2 separate regions of the Homo sapiens genome follow, and region 1 is linked to region 2. Evidence: promoter capture Hi-C in 16 types of primary human blood cells and fetal thymus (Javierre and others, 2016). All regions are on one chromosome and are shown on one strand. The core of a region is centred on a gene start or on the middle of the fragment in contact, and the rest is flanking DNA. Distances in the headings are between cores, read along the strand shown.

Evidence for each region. Contacts are between HindIII fragments. The CHiCAGO score rates a contact against its expected background, and 5 or more counts as called.
Region 1: a contact is called between the fragment with the promoter of ALG12 here and a fragment that was not itself captured in region 2, in 1 of 17 cell types (erythroblasts). The highest score is 5.1, in erythroblasts.

Annotation. Positions count from the first base shown.
Region 1 is chr22:49,916,997-49,920,900 of GRCh38, reverse strand. It overlaps ALG12 (ALG12 alpha-1,6-mannosyltransferase), which reads left to right and starts at 2,463. Exons shown (of 10, transcript NM_024105.4): 1 at 2,463-2,638. CRELD2 (CRELD disulfide isomerase 2) reads right to left here and starts at 2,267. Exons shown (of 10, transcript NM_024324.5): 1 at 2,003-2,267; 2 at 1,589-1,671; 3 at 1,061-1,171; 4 at 654-745. The coding sequence starts at 2,131. RefSeq lists silencers at 2,064-2,563, 2,674-2,873. The HindIII fragment of the contact is 6,188 bases long and covers 1-3,904 here.
Region 2 is chr22:50,632,672-50,636,156 of GRCh38, reverse strand. LOC124905149 (a long non-coding RNA gene) reads right to left here. Exons shown (of 2, transcript XR_007068161.1): 1 at 1,459-3,485; 2 at 151-614. Among named protein-coding and RNA genes, the nearest start is that of ARSA, 6.3 kb to the right of the region's middle. RefSeq lists enhancers at 1-378, 379-895. The HindIII fragment of the contact is 690 bases long and covers 1,581-2,270 here.

The sequences.
Region 1 (3,904 bases), core at 1,214-3,713, 720 kb after region 2:
GAGTGGGAACATTAGCTGCGGCCTCCAGTGCATGCCAGGGACAGCAGCAGGGGCTGGCAGAAGGCTGATGGTGGGCGGGTGGGGGGTCTGAACCTGAAACTTCTGCTACCTGATCTCGCTTGACCACGAGATTGGCTTTTATAAACAGTAAACCGTGACTTCAGTTTCAATGCACACTTCTTCACAGAAGAGCCCTGTCCCTTGGCACCCATTGGGGCTCAAGGCCATGTGCCCAGCCTGATAGACACCCAGTGCCCTGCGCTCTCTGCAATAGCAGCCACAGAAGTTGTGGTGTGGTCACCTCTGTGCACACAGGGAGAAGCACCTGGACAGGTCAGTCAGGACAGACTCTCAGGTGAGTGGACTCAGCTGTGAACAACCTGAGTCTGTGAACCCCTGAATTAACAGCACAGCTGGGAAGACATACTCAGAGTTTTACGCTAAAGCATGAGGTTAGTGGTGAGGCTGCAGCCAGACGGTGCGAAGTGCTCCAAGCTGTGTTGGGGATGGGGGAGGCAGCCATCCGGCAGGGTCCCAGACCCTACAGAAAGCTGATGCACCCCAGGTCCCCTCTGTGCTTTTACCTCCCAAGAATCATGAGAAGAAGAGGGGAAGTGACGTAGGAGATGGGATTTCCCTGAGGAGAAACGCACCGAGACAGTCGGGACCGTAGGTTCCTGGAGAGCAGCACACTTTCAGTGTCTTCACACAAAACCACTCGAATAAGTCAGGATATTCGCTCTTCCTGAGGATGGAGGAAAACATTCACTGAATCCCAGCAGACACGGTTCTTTAAAACAAACATGCAGCTGAACGTAACATATGCTCTGGAGTATTGTAAGGTCCAGGAAACAAGAGTCTAGGTGTGGACAGAATCTTCTCCTTAATTTCCTGGTTTTGATCGCTGACTCTGGTGATAAAAAACGGTAATGCAGGGGTAAGGTGGGTGCGAGGCAGGTGGGAGCTCCCTACTGTTCCTGTACCTTTCTAAGTCTGAGGTTATTTCAAATTCTAAGTTGGAAAATAAAAAGTATCTTCTAAGAGGTTTTAAGGCACTCACAGCTGCAGCCACCAGGCCTCCAGGTGCTCCTCCTGCGCCTCTAGCATCTGATTGCATTCGAAGTCGCTGCTCTCGCACAGCCCCTCCAGGATCTCCAGCAGGCGAATCTCGCTGAAACACAGGCCCACACCGGCCCACCGTCAGCGCCTCCAAGGCAGTGAAGAAAAATCCGAACCAATACGCCAACCTGGGTGCAGGGGCCGGGGAGCCAGGACTCCGGGCACAGAGAATAAGGGGACCCCACTGTCAGGGGAAGCCAGGAGCGGTTCCCACAAGTGGGGCTGGTGTTCCAGTTTACATTTTGAAAAGCCACTGTCTGTTGAGGGGGTAGGGACCAGAGCAGAAGCTGGAAGGCCAGAGAGGGGCCAGCCATTAGTCCTCAGGGAGAAGCCGAGGTGACTCGGACGGGTGACTGGTGCCTCGGGGGCTGTTCTGTCTCCCTGTCATTAACACAGGCACCAAAGGCAGGACACGACTTCCCAGGACAGCGCCAGGCCAAGACCCACAGGGGTGCTCCAGGGCACCCACCTGGACTCGTACTTGGACAGCGTCTTTTCCTCCCAAGCCGTGTTCCCGCCGCCAAAGTTCTTCTTTGCGGTGTCCACCATCCCCTGCGAGGAGACAGTGCCCATAGTGCTTGGTACCACCTGACCCGGGTCCAGGGTGGGGGCGAGCCCAGGTCGAGGGTGAGGGGACTCCAGGCCCACGGTGGCGTCGACCCTGGTTCCACGGTGGGGGTGGATCCGGGTCAAGGGTGAGGGGGACTCCAGGACCACGGTGGAGGGACTCTGGATCGACGGTGAGGGGGATCCCGAATCCAGGGTGAGGGGGACCCCGGATCCAGGGTGAGGGCGACCCTGGGCCCAAGGTGGGGCGACCCCGGATGCAGGGTGAGGGGGACCCCGGGCCCAAGGTTGACGACCCCGCCCGGCCCCTTCCCACCTGGTTAAACTTGTCCACCAGCCCCCGGCACCGGTGGCAGGGCGTCGGCTTCTTGGCGGCCTCCGGCGCGGGCGGCAGCAGCAGCAGAAGCGGCAGGAGCCCCAGCGCGGCCCGGCGCGGCAGGCGCATGGCGGGTAGCGCTGCGGGAAGACGCAGCCGGAGCTCCAGGTCCTGCGGCCGTGCTGCTCCGGCCTCCCGGCCGCCCACCCGCTCCCAGCCGCGCCGGCCTGTCCCCCAGGCTACTTGACGGCGCCGGCGAGGCCCCGCCCCACCCGCCAGCCCCGCGCCGCTATTGGTTGATGGGACCCGCCCCGGCCTGATATGGCCCAATCCGAGTTCGCCACGAGAGGTGACCAATGGGAAGGCCCCGGATCAGCGGCCGCCAGGAGTCCGGGGGCGGGGCGTGCAGGTCCGACCCCGCCTCCCGCTCCCCGCCCCTCGCGCGCAGCCCGCGGCGGCCATCTTTACTCAGGGCACAGAGGGTCTCTGCGGCCGTAGCGGCCGGGGCTGCGGTAGCCACTTTAGATTTGGGCAAGGACTTTAGATTCGGGCTCTGTTCTGTTTCCGCCGTCCTGCTTCCTGCCGAGGCTGGCCCAGGCAGCCGCGCTTCGAAGGACGCCGCCGGGAGCTGCGGAGGTCAGTGCGCGCTGCCGCGACCGGGGCCTTCAGGCGGGCGCGCGGCGAGACCAGGGAGGAGGCGGGCGAGGGCGCGACCCGAGCTGGCGCTGGCGCTGGATTCCTGAGGCCTCACCGCGCATGTCCACGCGTCACAGCCCCGTGCTCCTTACCTGGGGCTGCACCCCTCACTTGGGGCCGGGCTCCTCACCTGGGGCTGGACCTGTCACCTGGGGGCCAGACCTCTCACCCGGGGGCCGGACCTCTCATCCGGGGGCCCGACCTCTCACCTGGGGCTGGACCTCTCACCTGGGGCCGGGCTCCTCACCTGGGGCCGGACCTCCCACCTGGGGGATGGGTTTTTCACCTGGGGGCTGGGGATCTGGGGTCCACTTAGGGTCTCTGGGGGCTGGGGATCTGCATTTCTACAGGCGCTTGAGGTGATGAACACTCGCTCATGTTCAGGAACCCCTGGTTTAAATTAGGGGAAATAAAACGTGCAGCGTCTGGATTTCAGAGAACTCCTGCCTGTGGAAGGAAGGAGTGCAGATAACACTGCACATTTAAAAAAAAAAAAAGTAACATCTGATTTGACCAGTTTCTTTTCTGTTTTTTTGAGACGGAGTCTCACTTTGTCGCCCAGGCTGGAGTGCAGTGGCGCGATCTCAGCTCACTGCAAGCTCCGCCTTCCAGGTTCCTGTGATTCTGCTGCCTCAGCCTCCTAAGTTGGGATTACAGGCACCCACCACCAGGTCCGGCTAATTTTTGTATTTTTAGTAGAGACGGGGTTTCACCATGTTGGCCAGGCTGGTCTCGAAGTCCTGACCTCAAGCGATCTGCCTGCCTCAGCCTCCCAAAGTGCTAGGGTTACAGGCGTGAGCCACCATGCTTAGCCTGATTTGATCAATTTCGGTAGAGGCCTTAAAATCTGGATTGATGGGGACAAGAGGGTCTTTGCAGGTCATTCCCTAATCTGAGATGCCATTGTTCTGTAAACCACCATTTTAAAGTGTCATGGCCTGGGCCCGTTTTAACCTGTGGGTGCTCTCGAAGCACCCGTCACTTAGATTAGCCACAGCTGCTGCCCAGCTGCCCAGCAGAGTGGGCTAGTGCAGGACAGTGTCCGTTCACCCTCGCCTGGTGGGGGGTTCGTCGTGGTTTTCGTGCTTGCTGGTGTTGACTTGGTCTTCCCGTGCTCCTGGCAGAGAATCCAGACTCACCCTTGGTCTTCTCATGCCCTCGAAAGTGAGCTGTGCTGGTCATCAGCAGAAGGCACACCTTGTTGGG
Region 2 (3,485 bases), core at 676-3,175:
CTCATGGTTTCATGAGGTGCTTCCCCACTCTTCGCTCTGCACACCTCCTTCCTGACCTCATGTGAAGAACGTGTTTGCTTCCTCTTCCGCCATGATTGTAAGTTTCCTGAGGCTTCCCAGCCACGCTGAACTGTGAGTCAATTAAACCTCTTTCCTTTACAAATCACCCAGTCTCAGGTATGTCTTTATTAGCAGTGTGAGAATGGGCTACTACAAAGACAATGCCTGGAGGACTCAACCCCTCCCAGCATGACCGGGGGGCACAGCTGGGCCAGGGAGGACAATGCTCGGGCACTGCAGACACACAGCATGACCGGGGGGCACAGCTGGGCAAGAGAGGACAATGCTCGGGCACTGCAGACACACAGCATGGCTGGGGCGCACAGCTGGGCTAGGGAGGACGGGGCTCAGGCACTGCAGACACACAGTATGGCCGGGGGGCACAGCTGGGCTAGGGAGGACGGGGCTCGGGCACTGCAGACAAACAGCATGACCGGGGGGTACAGCTGGGCCAGGGAGGATGGGGCTTAGGTACTGCGGACACACAGATGTCTCCAGGCCACATCATGTCCACTTGTCTTGACCCCAGAATGTAGAGGCTCAAAGCCAAAGACCTAAGTTCACAGACAAATTAAGCAAGTATCAGAAATATGACAGAAGCAAATTTTATGACCTTAAAGCATCTAACAGAGACTGTCTGAACCTGTCCGACCAATGGGCCCAAGCAAAGATGTCTCAATTATATTTAAGACTGACGACTTTGAAGATATTCTAATTTTAGCATCATTTTTTTTTTTGAGATGGAGTCTCACTCTGTCACCCAGGCTAGAGTGCAGTAGTGCAGTCTCGGCTCACTGCAACCTCTACCTCCCAGGTTCAAGTGATTCTCCTGCCTCAGCCTCCTGAGTAGCTAGGACTACAGGCGCATGCCACCACGCCTGGCTAATTTTTGTATTTTTAGTAGAGACGGGGTTTCACCATGTTGGCCAGGATGGTCTCGATCTCTTGACCTCGTGATTTGCCCGCCTCAGCCTCCCAAAGTGCTGGGATTACAGGTGTGAGCCACTGCACCCAGCAGCAACAATTTTAAAACTAAGTTTATTTGCCAAAGATTACTAGTCACATGAACTAGAAAAGCATCTGGGTTTAGTTACATCATTCATGAGCACTTATTTATTTATACGTCAATTTGCTACTATGTACATAATATACAAACAGGCATGTACACATAAAAATACAGACACAAATCAAGATTTTATAGCTTTAGTTTTAAGATTTTAGCCACGAATCGGGTAAAAATCACTAGTTTAAAAGGATACTTAAAATTGTGCCTCTGTAAATGGAACAAGGTAAAATTTATCTGTCTCACACGGCCAAAGCCCTTACCAAGTTTTAGAGAAAACAAGGCAACAAATTTACATCTTGAAGCACAGAGAAAAAAAAATTATTTTTATTTACTGAATTTTTTCAAGACGGAGTCTTGCTCTGTCGCCCAGGTTGGAGTGCAACGGCACGATCTTGACTCACTGCAACCTCTGCCTCCTTGGTTCAAGCAATTCCACAGGGAGAAAGTTTAAGCTTTGATTTAGTATGTTAAAGGAAGATTTTAAATGGATGCTGAGGTAACAAAAAGTCATAGAAATTCACCACAGGATTTTATAAGGACAACAATGTTATTTAAATATGTGGCTATTAATTTATTCTCCATTTTTGAACTAGACCACTGGGCTCAGGACAGAGCTCATTAATGAACATGGCCAAAAAAGCATTTGCAGTTTGGAGGACCTAATATTTAAATATGTGAAAAACAGGTGCAGCTGGAAGGCAGAGCATCTAGATCTTTTAAAATCAAGGATCCCACATTTACACTGAATGCTGAGTTCCCTCTAAAAAGAGATATATATGAGACAAAGCCATACAGTGTTTCCACAGTGTACCTCACTATGAAGACATTCCCCTGAGGCTGGTGGGAGACCCACAGCAATCAGCCCACGGAGTCTCAGCCTTTGACGCCAAGTGCTTCCATAGTCTCCAAGTGTTCAGATTGTGCCTTTCTCATCTAAACATGCAGAGAAACAAGCAGCCACTGCAGGAACAACCATTCACTACAACTGCTTTCAGCCACCTCCAAAACTGTGAGGCAGCCCTCGCCAGTGACCTGCCGGCCATCACACACACTCAGGTCATGCACTGTCTCACAGTGCAACGTAATCCCTGGTACCCCCAAAGCCAAAGAGATCCAGTGACACAGTGCCAAAGACAGCCAAGCTTTAGACCCGAGAGGAAGCTACCCACGACTCCTCAGGCCCCATAAGGAAGACAAAAGCGGGGCGCGTGGCACCTTTCTTTGCGTTCCCCAAGGGGTCTCTAAGTCATCAGAAGTCCCTTGTAGATCCCTTCATTAGGTACCAAAGATGGCAAAGGGGATGGAGGAGCACGGAGGGGTAGAAGTAAATGGGACTGCAATCCTTAGAGGAGCCAATTTGGAAAAATGTTAAGGTTCTAAAAGGCCAATACAATTTTACATTTTTCTCATCAAAATTATACCAACAAAGGAACCAAACAGAAGGACCAAACACACAATTTAAAGGGGTTTCAGTCACCTGAAAAAAAAATTCCCAGAAACAGGGTCCAAAAGCAGAAAAGGCTGTAGATACATGGCTTGAAGATCAGCTCACCTGTTTTTAATTAAGCCAACTTCTGACCACAGAGCTCTTTTTTAAAATCCTTTCAAATATCTTATTATCAGATTTTAGCTGAGACCAACAGCTGATAGCCATGGCTTTGAGACCTTTTTTTTTAAAACCAAAGGTACCTCCCAAGTGACTCACCAAAACCAATAAGCCTTAACTAAAGCTATGGACTTAACCAAGGACACATAAGCCATCTCCAAAGAGGCGCAAAGCAGTCCTGATGACATCCAGAGCCACCCCAAAGAGCTCAAAGAAAGGAAATCAAAAGCTGCCAGTGGAGGGGGAAAGGGTCAACAACAAATGAGTTCCGCACAAAGTCAAAAGTTGGCTGGGTGCGTGGCTCACGCTGGTAATCCCAGCACTTTGGGAGGCCGAGGCAGCCGGATCACAAGGTCAGGAGTTCGAGACCAGCCTGGCCAACACGGTGAAACCCCATGTCTACTAAAAATACAAAAAAAAAAAAGAAAAAAAAAGAAAATTAGCTGGGCGTGGTGGCTCACACCTGTAATCCCAGCACTCTGGGAGGCCAAGGCGGGAGGATCACGAGGTCAGGAGTTCGAGACCAGCCTGGCCAACATGGTGAAACCCCATCTCTACTAAAAATACACACACACAAAAAAATCAGCCGGGCGTGGTGGCTCACACCTGTAATCCCAGCTACTCCAGAGGCTGAGGCAGGAGAATTGCTTAAACCCAGGAGGCAGAGGGTGCAGTGAGCCAAGATCATGCCACTGCACTCCAGCCTGGGCGACAGAGCAAGACTCCGTCTCCAAAAAAAAAACAAAAGAAAGA